2 separate regions of the Homo sapiens genome follow, and region 2 is linked to region 1. The links are contacts of gene promoters, found by promoter capture Hi-C in blood cells and fetal thymus (Javierre and others, 2016). All regions are on one chromosome and are shown on one strand. The core of a region is centred on a gene start or on the middle of the fragment in contact, and the rest is flanking DNA. Distances in the headings are between cores, read along the strand shown.

Region 1 (5,647 bases), core at 1,398-3,897:
CATTCCTCAGTGCAAGCCCTGGTTCTCGAAAGTTTTAGGGGGGCAGTTATAAGGGACAAGGACCCGCTAAATGGTCAATCTAACTAAAGCTGGCAGCTTTAGTGTCAGGCGCTGGGTTAGGTGCAGAGGCAGCAGGCCAGCGCGCAGTCCAGAGTAGCACGCTCATCCTCACTGCCCGCCTAGGCTACACGAACCCCGGAGGTGGCGGCTCCCACTGCCTCCGCGCCTCCAAACAAAGGGCGCTCGGAGAGTTTGAGCCCTTGTGTGTGGTGGGGCGGAGGGTGTGGCAGGAGGGCGCGGGAAGAAATGAGGCGTGTAGCCAGACGCGGGTGGCCTAAGCCTCCGAGCTGCCGCCTCCGTCTTAGCCACCGGCGGGCGCGACAGCTGCCCTGAGCTCCGGCGGCGAGGGGCGCCCGCTGCAAAGCGAAACCAAGGAAAGGGCGCCCCCTATGCCCGAGCCCGGCGAGCGCATCGGCGAGTCGCGTCTGCCCACCCCGCGGAGCGCTTGCAGCCTAGGGCCTCTGCGCGCGCCCGCCAGCTCGCAGTGCAGTCCACTCGGCCGTCCCGGCCGCCAGGATTTAGGGTGTCCAGGGCTGGCAGGCCGGGCGTGCAGCGAGGGCCGGGGCTGAGGCTCCGTGCGCCTTCGTGGGTTCCCACAGAGGGTCCTCGAAACACAGCCCCCTCCCCCATCGCCTACACTTGCCCTCCTGTCCCGAGCGGCTCGAAACCACTTGGAGACAGCCGCCCCCGCCCTCTGCCTCTGCGTCCCTTTTCCCCTTCCCTCTCTCCAGCCTCCTGGGAAACAAAGGGGCTTTTTATAAAGCGGATTGTTGGCGGCGGCGGCGGCGGGGGTGGGAGGGAGGGGGGATCTATAAAGACAAGAAGAGGTGGGAGGGAGGGAAGGAAAGAAGCTGCGCGGCCTCCAGGGGCCCAGAGCTGCGGTGGCGGCCGGGAAGCCCCGGCGGGTGCACGGTCGACCCCGCCCGGCCGGTGGGCACTCGGGCGGCAACCCACGCCTGCCAAGAGCTGGGCCGCGCCGCTGCGATGTCGCTCGCCGGCTCACCGCAACCAGGGAACACAATTCCCCAGGCGCGGGCCGGGGCCGCTGGGGGCGGCGCAATTCCCGCGGGGGTCTACCCCGGGAGACCCAGGCCCTCTCCCTAGCCAACTCTTTCAAAATTGCTTGGTCTCAGGGAGACTTTGCGCCTTTGTTCCAGCGCAGCCGCCTCTAGTAAGCTCGGCTCGCTCGCCCTTGCAGACAATGTCCCGGAGCCGGCCTGGGTTTGCCTACCCGTGAGCAGCACGTTCACCGTGGGGACCGCGCCCCCGGGGGGCACCGTGGTGCCAAACAACAACGACAAGCCACCCCAGCAAAAGCAGCCCCTTCTCCCCACGTCCCCCAGCCACGCTGTGCTCCCGCCCGCTCACACACACCCACACTCCGGGTGCCCAGGTCAGCCGCACCCAGCTGCAGAAGCGCGGCGGGGCGGGAGTGAATGCTCCAGCCCGAGGCGCGTGTTTGCACAGGTTCCGATGGCTTCAGGGCCGAGCTTTCTGGCAGGCTAATCCTATTAGTGTCTGCTCAGTCCGAATTTAATCACGGATCAGAATCAGACGACATCTCCAGCTTTCCAGGAGGCTTCGGACACACTGCATTGGGACGGAGCCTGGCCAAGCCAACTGGCCGAGAAAAGTATTTGGCGGCGCTCCGGGGGGCTTCCCGCCCGCGCTAGCCGGCGCCGGGCGCCCAGCTCTGTCGTCGCGCGGATGCTGGGGAACCTGAAGCGCGGACTCTGACGCAGGGGCGCCGGGGCTGCTCCGCAGGAACCCAGTCCGGGCTGCCCTGAACACCAGCTCAGCTCCGGGCTGCGCTTCCCAGGAGTTGGCAGGGGAGGGAGTGCAGGGCAGCGGATTCGGCGCGCACACTCCACACTCTCGCTCAGAGGCGGCAAACAGCGTTGGGGTGGGGAAATCCTTCATCCAGCGCCCACTGCCTACTGGCCTGGGCTCAGGCAGCTGGCATGTGAAGGCACCGTCGCCGGTGACACCCAGGCTGCAAGCGACCCGGGGGTGCTGGGACAGAGTGGGAGCCTCCCAGTAGCCCAGCGTAGCCCGAGGAGCTTGCGCCCTTCTACCTTTCCTCCCCGGTACGTGGCTGTCCCCGCCGGATTTCAGACGCCCGACGGGCGCCGAGCCAAAGGCCGTGGTCTCCGGCGTTTCGAGCTGCGCCCAGCCCAGCCGGGCTGGTTCGAGAAGGGGGTGGCCGCCCGCAGCGCCAGGTGGGCCGTGTGCTCAGAGCAAACTTTAGGGTCTACCGACTCGAAGCACCCCTGGGACCCCGATCCTCAGCGATGGGGACCATAACTGGGGGCTACAAGTGTACCCCGGAACCCCCAGAACAGTCAGACTTCCTGCACCCGCCCTCAGCCTTACCGTGCTGCAGAGCTCCGGCGGCGGCGGGGGCAGTGTCCGAGGGGCGGGCGGCCGCCGGCGCGGGCAGCCTGGACTCAGGCGGCCGCCAAGGAACCCAGCCCTGTTGCAGATCACCCCCTGGCTAGCGGCCGGTGCCCCCGCGCCCGCCCGCCGCCGGCCGCTTCAGCTCGCGGCCAAGTTCATGCTGGCGGCGCTGCAGTGGCGGCCTCAATCTGCTCGCTCCATTCCCACCGCCCGGCTCCGCGCCGCGCGCCCGGAAGGTGGAGTTTCGGGGGTTTAAGTTACTGATAGGCATTTCTCACTGCTGTGTCACTCGGGGAGGAGGAGACACGCACGCCGCACACTCACACACCCTCACACTCACGGCGACGAGCGGCTCCGGCCTTAAAGGGGAAGCCGCGCTGCCCTGCCCGCGACCCCGCCAGCCCGAAGCCTGGAAACTCAGGGTTTCCACTCCGGGATGGGGCAGCGGGCAGCCAAAGAGCTGCGGCCGCCCGAGGGGCCTCCCGGGCCCTCCCACCAGTCTTTAGAGGAGAAAGCGGCCGCAGGCTGGCTTCGCTGTTGCAGCCTCATTTCTCCAGTCGGCTCGAACCAGGGCAGCTGGGGAGGGATCGGAGGGGCGGAAGGGGCATCGGTGCACTCACCTTGGCTGCTCCGCACTCAGTGGAGGGTGGTCTGTGCCCCCGGCGTCAGCTGGCTTGCCTAGGCGGTGCGCTGGTGGAAAGAGGCGACAGCAGGGTTAGCGGAGCGCCTCCAGCAGACAGAGCCCGCCGGAGGGCCGCAGGCGGGGCCCGGCGCGCTTGGGAAACCCGCACGCCGAAGGTAGACTTTCCGCGTCTGGGGAAAACGAGCTGGTGAGCCGTGCGTGGCCGGGACACACGAAGAGCGAGCACGGAGAGCCAAAAGCCAGCGGTCATCAGTGACAGGGCGAGAGAGCGCTCAGGACCGAGAGACCAAGAAAGACAGGAGACCGTACGAGACACAGAGAAGGCAGAGACTGAGAGACAGATACCGAGAGAGGCACCGGCGGAGATAGAGGTAGAGACACGATGAAGGGAGAGGAGAGGAGAGGAGATGAGAGGAGAGGAGAGGAGAGGAGGAAATAAGGAGAGGAGGAGAGGGACCAGAGAACAAGAGAGCTTGCAAGAGGAATGACAGATCCCCAGAGGACCCTGAAGTGTCACAGGGACGGGAGTCTCATCACAAAGTAGCCTATTCAGCCCCCATCCCCCTTCCCATTTTCACCAGAGCCTGACCCTAGGGCTAGCGGCCAGGCCCTTCTCCTCCCCTCGCCCTGGGAGGGGCACTCACCTGCAGTGGGTGGCTGCTGGGTGGGTAGCGCCAGTCCCTCCGCCCACGCATCCGCTCACCAGCTCGCGCCCTGACTGCCAAACAGACCCGCTGTGGCGGCAGCGGGGACCAGGGCTCTCAGGTGGCAGTTAGTGAACTGCATTCTCTCCATCCCGGCCGAGTGCCCCACTCCCCACTTCCCAGTCCCCCACCCTTAGCGCGGACGCTGTCGGCGTCGCCCGCCAGTACGCTTAGCTCAGAGTCCAGGCTCGCTGGCCAGTCTCCCGTTCCACTGGACCAGGGCACGCGATGCTCCCGCCCAAGCTGGGCTGGATTGGCTCCCTCCGCAGTTATCCCAAGACGGACACCTGCGGCTTCTGCAGGAACATAGGTTCCTTGGGAACTGCCGGGCGGGCCAGCGCGCCCTGTCCACCATCTGCCCTGGCGCCGAGTCCAGCGACTCCCCTCCCACCTATCCCACCTCCCGGGTATTTGGCTGCGCCCCTTCTCTAGGATCCCCTCCCCGGATGCGTTTCCTAACCTGGACTTCTCCAGCCGATGGCAGCTGCAGGGGCTGAGCACAACCCGGGAACGCCGCGTCTGCTCCGACAGCAGCAGCGCTCAGCTCCTGTCCGCACCTCTGAGTAGCAACCTGTCACCAACACATCTGGTCACGCTCAGCGGAGCCGCAGGCCACGAATAAAGGGGTGGGCCCGCCGCCCACTAGGCCCCTCCTTCCCTCCACGCCCACGCTCTCGGCCCTCGGAAAGCGCTGGGGCCACCTCCGAGAACCCAGCAAGATCCCTTCGTGGGCTACGTAGGCGCAGTGAGGCTGGGCGATTGCCTCCTAGCGTTTCACGAAGTTACCTGGAGGAAGAGCGGCGTCCAGGCCCAACCGCGAGGCACATGCAGGGGCTGTGGCTTCGCAGCCCCAGCGCTGCCAGGATGCGCCCAGCCCAACAGGGCGAGGCTGGGGGTACACAGTTCGTCAGGGCAGTTGTGAAGGAATCCGCCTTGTCTGGGTCCAGTCCTGTCTGCTCTGCAAAGGGCAAGCAGCCAGAAGAGGTTATTGCTCTCTGGTGACTGAACCTTACCTTCAAGGCCCTCCAGGGAGAGCTAGAGTCATCTCAGGGTTGCCAGTGCCCCGGTAGAACTGCGAGAGTGCGGGAGTCCCTTGAAGGAAATCTGATTAAACAAAGCTGAATGGGAGATGGCCATGCCTATCACGGAGCATTGGCAGGATGCTTTTAAAATTCTATCTGCAACCTCCAAGTGCACTAGCCAAGGAGATGGAAGGTGGGTTTCTGTTCCCAGCACCTCCACTCAACCCTTGGACCACTTGCTCTCATCTTCCTCAGTGGGACAAATGATGCCCATTCCCCTAGAGCATCCTAAGAAGCCTGTAATATCACAGCCACACGTCTGCGAGATGGCTAACTGCCTGCTTGGCACCAGCACCTGGATGGCCATTAGAAATCGCCTGACTGAACCGAGTTCCTGATCGTCTCCCAAGTGTGCTGAGCCCATAGTCTGCTACCTCAGTTCATGGCTACTCCATCCTTCACGTTGCCCAGGCAGAAGGCCCTGGGATCCTCCCCGATTCTTCTCTCTTGCTCACACCTCACAGCCAGTCCAGTGGACAATTCTGCCATCTGCATCATCAAAATGTATCCACAATGTCAGTCTGCTCATCCATTGCTCCCCCCGGGTACCAGCCAGCAGCCTCTCCCCCCAGGATAACTCCAGTAGCTGCCGCACAGACTGCCCTCATTCCTCCCTCCCTTCAACCCTCTCCTTGCAGTCTATTCCCCGATCTCTGTGCCAAACCCCACAGTGACTCCCCATTGCACTCAAAGTAGAACTGAAGTGCTTCTAGTGGCCTCTGGGGCCCTTCAGGCATGTCCCTCCACTATCTCAATAACGT
Region 2 (4,927 bases), core at 1,981-4,480, 280 kb before region 1:
ATTAGAGGAAAACAACAGGCTTTGGAGACAGACCCAGGCTGAGATAGCTCAGCTTCAGCTTCTCCTTGCCATGTGATCTGGGACAAGGCACTTAACATTTCTGAGCCTCAACATCCTCTCCTGTAAAATAGGGGATAATATTACCTAGGTCTCATACTATTAAAGGAACCACACTCTATTATAATAGCTAATGCCAGCCACTGTTTAATGAACTCCTATGACATCCCAGGTACTGTGACTCTTGCTTTACATAATTTTCTCTCTTCAGCAGTGCTGCAAGATAGGTATTACTGTCCCCATTTTGCCAATGAGAAAACAGAAACTCAGAGACGCTAGTTAACTATCCCCTAAGTCACATAGGTAATAAGTGGAATTTAAGTCTAAGTCTGGCTTCAAAGCTCGAACTTTTTCTACTAAACCATGACTATTTCTCTGCTATGCAAACACCAATGAGAGAGCACTGCACATAGTGAGCTCTGAAAGAATAGAAGATTTCAAGAGGAGACAAGATGGCTACCGCCTACTGCAGCAACTACAAGTATTAACTTGCCAGGGCAGGCTTTGGTTCATCTTCACAGCATGGTGAAGAGTGCCCATTTTCCACACTGACAAAAAGAGATGCTATGGTTTCATTTAGGAATCTGGCTGCATTCTGCTTAAACGTTTTGAAATGGCATAGAACACGTGGCCTTTGGCCCTTTAAGAAAAAGTTAAACAGTTCTGAGACTTGCAAAGAAAACAATATTATACTAACTCCAGAGTGCCTGTAGGAACAGAACAGGGAAACATCTGCCTGGGGCTGAAGAGGAAAGGAGAAGTCACCAGACAAATGTGCCATAGCTACAATATGCCTATTTTCTCTTTATTAACAACAATGGAAGGAATATAAGCTTGTAGCCATGGATAGAAGGGCCAAAGAAACTTAGGTTTTTTTTTGTTTTTTGTTTTTGTTTTTTCCTGGAGGTAGTCACAGAAAAAGGTTTCCTGCAGAAGTAAGGCTACCATCCATTTAGGTTTCAAACTTGGAGACCTATGTTAAAAGCCAGAGATCTTGGTCTCTAAAGACTCTAGGCAAGAAAATATAGTTAGGCAGAAATATTTCTTTAGAGCGTGCTCTAAATAGTATCACTGGTAAGTAGACAGTAAACATTCACAGTGTTGTTTTAAAAAAGTTATTAGCTAATAAATAAGCAATTTATTATTTAAGTGGGCCACTTTCTCCTCTTCCTGCTTCTCTACACATGTGGTTTTTAAATAGTTATGGTGATTTTCAAAGAGATTCTTGAAACTAGAGTTCTCTTCATAAATAACTGAAAATAAGTGAAAAAATAAAAGGAAAAATATACTTTATTACTCATCGCTAATGTTTCTGGTAAAAACAGACATTAGCACAGTTCCACATTAATTCATCACGATGTACCGCCACAAAAATAGAAGCGGCTTGCTGCTAGATCTTACCAATCCTTGGATTTTGTTTAATTTAAAATGATGTGCCGTTGCTTGTTGCATCTGGGGATGTAAATTTCTAAATATCCGTAAGGGAGGAACAATTAGGTCCAAGGAGAACAGAAGGTCAGAAAGGGCAACAATCAATTAGTCAAGCACACACTGAGTTCCTGAAAGTTCAAATTCTACATCTCTGGTTACTTTTGAAGTATTCTTTTTGGTTTTCCTTTCTTCAACAAAAAAGAACAATGTAGATTACCTAGGACGATGATGTAAAGGTCTACGGGCCTGTTGCTATGGATATTAGCGACTAGCGGAGAGACACAGCAGAGGAAGGGAGAAACAAGTGAGCTTTTTAAAAGAATGACAGAGATCTGTAAAGCTTAGGCTTTTTCCCTGATATTTTCCTTCCCTCGACTCCTAAGAGGACTAGAAATAGAAGCTTGTTTCCTGAGTGTTAAAAAGGCCTTCAGGAATTCTGTTGCTGGAATGAGCTTTAATTAGTGTATCCATTTCATGCATTTTAATATTCTAAAATATTCTTTGTAAATACTTCATTGTAATGCTATATCATATCTATTTCAGGCTAAATATGTACATGAAAATATTGCTATATATATATATATATATATATATATTCACCCTGAAATATATATGAAAGATAATAGGTACACAGATATATAAAATTAAGGACAATCCAAGAAGATATTTAGAGTTAGATTTAATTTCCTGAGTGTTTCACTTACGATTCCTAATTTACTTGTCAATTTAACTTACTGACTGCTTCACATATAATTTCAAAATCATCTCTGGACCAAAAAACAACCGTAGTAACAAATAGCTGGTTTAAAAGCATGCATGGGGATGGGGAGGTGGCCCAGGATTAAATGTGTAGGACAGAAGATCTGTGCACAAATAATGAAGAGTTGAGCTCTGCATGCATGCAGTCTGACACATCCTAGTCCAGACAGATATCACAGATTCTATTAGGAAGCTGCTGCACCTATCTGAGCTGCTCAAGAACTTGTTTTGCTTTCTGGTTCTTGTCTTATGTTCTGAATAATTGAAGATGCTAGACAAATAACCTCAGGATAAGCAATGTATTAAATATGATGAAATTTAAGCTTACAGCAGAGGAGAAACAATAAATCTGAAAGCTGGAATGGGAGTGAGCAATTTGGGGCAGGCCCCTCGTGAGCATTTGAAAGTGACAGCAATGATGGGAGGAGAAGGAAAAGAAAAACAACAAAAAGGAGAAATAGAACGTAAAATGCACATCAATCTGGGGCCATTTAGTAGAGCAAGCAAACAGCCATACACCTTGCAGCAGCTTCTGAAGGCAACACTATGCAGTCACTGATGTTCATGATGACCCTAATCAATTTTAAGTGCATTCAGCATATTCTGCTTACAGCAAAAAGTCAATTGAGACAGACTTCTTTGAAAACGGTCAACTTTGTGTATATGTTTGTGCCTGGAAAACTCACATACGTGGACCTACTCATTTCTTGAATTATCTTATGTAAATGAGAATACACATATGTGAGTATATACGGGTATGGGGGAGGGAGTGTTTGAGTAAGCATGCAAATTTAGTATTTTAATAATTACAGCTTCCCATAGCTTCTTACAGATGCCCCAATAGTGTACACAATGAGTGATCATCCACAGCTGAAAGGGCTTTAAAGAGAATCTAACTTTTTCCTGCCAAGGTCCTGGCCAAAACCCAATTTCATTACAGTCTAGACATGCCTATTTACCTAAAGTTTATTTGCATTTGATTTTGATATATTCAATTTTGTTTAAGTTTTGTGATTAAAACTACTTTCTGTCTAAGAGAACTGGTTTTCTTAACTATTAATTTAAACCCACGTGTTTCTATATCATGGCAAAAACATTCACAGAAAACACTGCACTCCATATGTAAGCTAAGTGTCCAGCACATCATTAAGTCCACTCACCTTGTTGGCCACTGCATTTACGCTGGGTCTTGCATCATAAATGGTGAGTTTAGAAATTTGTTTATTAGTCTCCCTGATAACATCGAGATATTTCTCATCATCTTTATTTCGTTTCCCACTCATACCGACAAGAGGCTGACTGCAACGCACAATGACCGTCTTATTTTCTGGATGAATCCATGACAGCACCTATGGTTAAGTCAGAAAGTTTAAGCTATCAAGAAAGCAAATCTCCAAGCAAACAATTAAAACTGTAAAACAGTAAAGCACTGACGGTTATCAAGAAGTGAATCTGATTGTGCTAAAATAGAATACTTGTTCACTTGCAATCTCACTGCGTGTGTGTGCCCAGAGACATGCATTTAATAATATAACTCAGAAACAAGTACAATTACCAGTCTTTTCTTAATTAGCACCACATCCAATATAAATTAATTGCTTACCTAAAAATAGTTATATCACTTAAAGGAAATTGAAAGCTTGATCCTATTTTAATTATGTAGCTTGCACTGGATTTGTTATCATATAGAAGCAGCTTTGGCAAAAAGTGAGAGGTAAAGGAAATTGTCTCTGGTACAATATGTTTCTCATAATACCAACTCTGTCTACAGATCATTTTCCCAACAGTCTCAATTCTAGAATCTAACACAGGAAGGAAGAAAACCTGAGCAGAGCAAAACTGATCTCAGGACAGCCCAAAGAGCATAGATCTGCTCGTCTCCACAGTGCAGTGTGGACATCCAATGCCTAGGAGACCTCATCAAGCCCTGATTCAGAACCTATCTTCTCTAACTTTATACACAAGTCTAGCACATTTGCTCCCTGGTTGCCAAGCTCATAGCATGTGAAAAGTAATACACGTAAAAGGTAGCTAATAATGTAATATACCAAAAACGACAGAATTGTACACTTGAGATGGGAAATTGTTTGGTATGTGAAGTAGATCTCAATAAAGCTATTAAAAATGGGAAGCTGGAGAACTGCAGCACAGTGGGCGACAATGTGGACTTTGGGGTCTAGTGCCATCTCTGCCGTGGTTCTAACCTCAGGCATTTCACTCGCAGCTTCTCTGGCTTCCCTTTCCTCTTCCATAAAATGGGGAGAATAATATAATCTCATAGGGTTGCTCGGTGGCCTGAAGAAGAATGCCCAGAAAGTCTGCAATAAACACTGGCTCGTGTTAGCTTATAGAGGCAGGCCCAGCAGCCAGGAAAGTCAGTTAGCAAAAACTACAAAATGCAGATACAAAGAACGAAAGAAGCTTAATCATGTGGGCTCACTCAACATAACACCAAATTCCCTGATGTCTCTGAAGTTACCTACCCCATGATGGCAAATGACAAACATTGATGTTTATAAAAATGAGTGTTTATAATGACAACAGGTTATTGAGAAAAGATTATACAGTAATATTTATTCATTCTCAGAACAAATATGGTCCTTGCACCATGCTAGAGATCAATTAAAAACACCATTGTAGCCCCTGCCTAATAAGAGTCCAAAGGCTCAGAACTGGGAGC

The links. Contacts are between HindIII fragments. The CHiCAGO score rates a contact against its expected background, and 5 or more counts as called.
Region 2: a fragment that was not itself captured here is called in contact with the fragment with the promoter of MAMLD1 in region 1 in 1 of 17 cell types (activated CD4 T cells); the score reaches 5.6 in activated CD4 T cells.

What each region holds. Positions count from the first base shown.
Region 1 is chrX:150,360,317-150,365,963 of GRCh38, reverse strand. MAMLD1 (mastermind like domain containing 1) reads right to left here and starts at 2,647. Exons shown (of 8, transcript NM_005491.5): 1 at 2,434-2,647. The HindIII fragment of the contact is 7,703 bases long and covers 1-5,647 here.
Region 2 is chrX:150,644,352-150,649,278 of GRCh38, reverse strand. It overlaps MTM1 (myotubularin 1), which reads right to left. Exons shown (of 15, transcript NM_000252.3): 9 at 3,408-3,596. Among named protein-coding and RNA genes, the nearest start is that of MTMR1, 47 kb to the left of the region's middle. The HindIII fragment of the contact is 1,316 bases long and covers 2,573-3,888 here.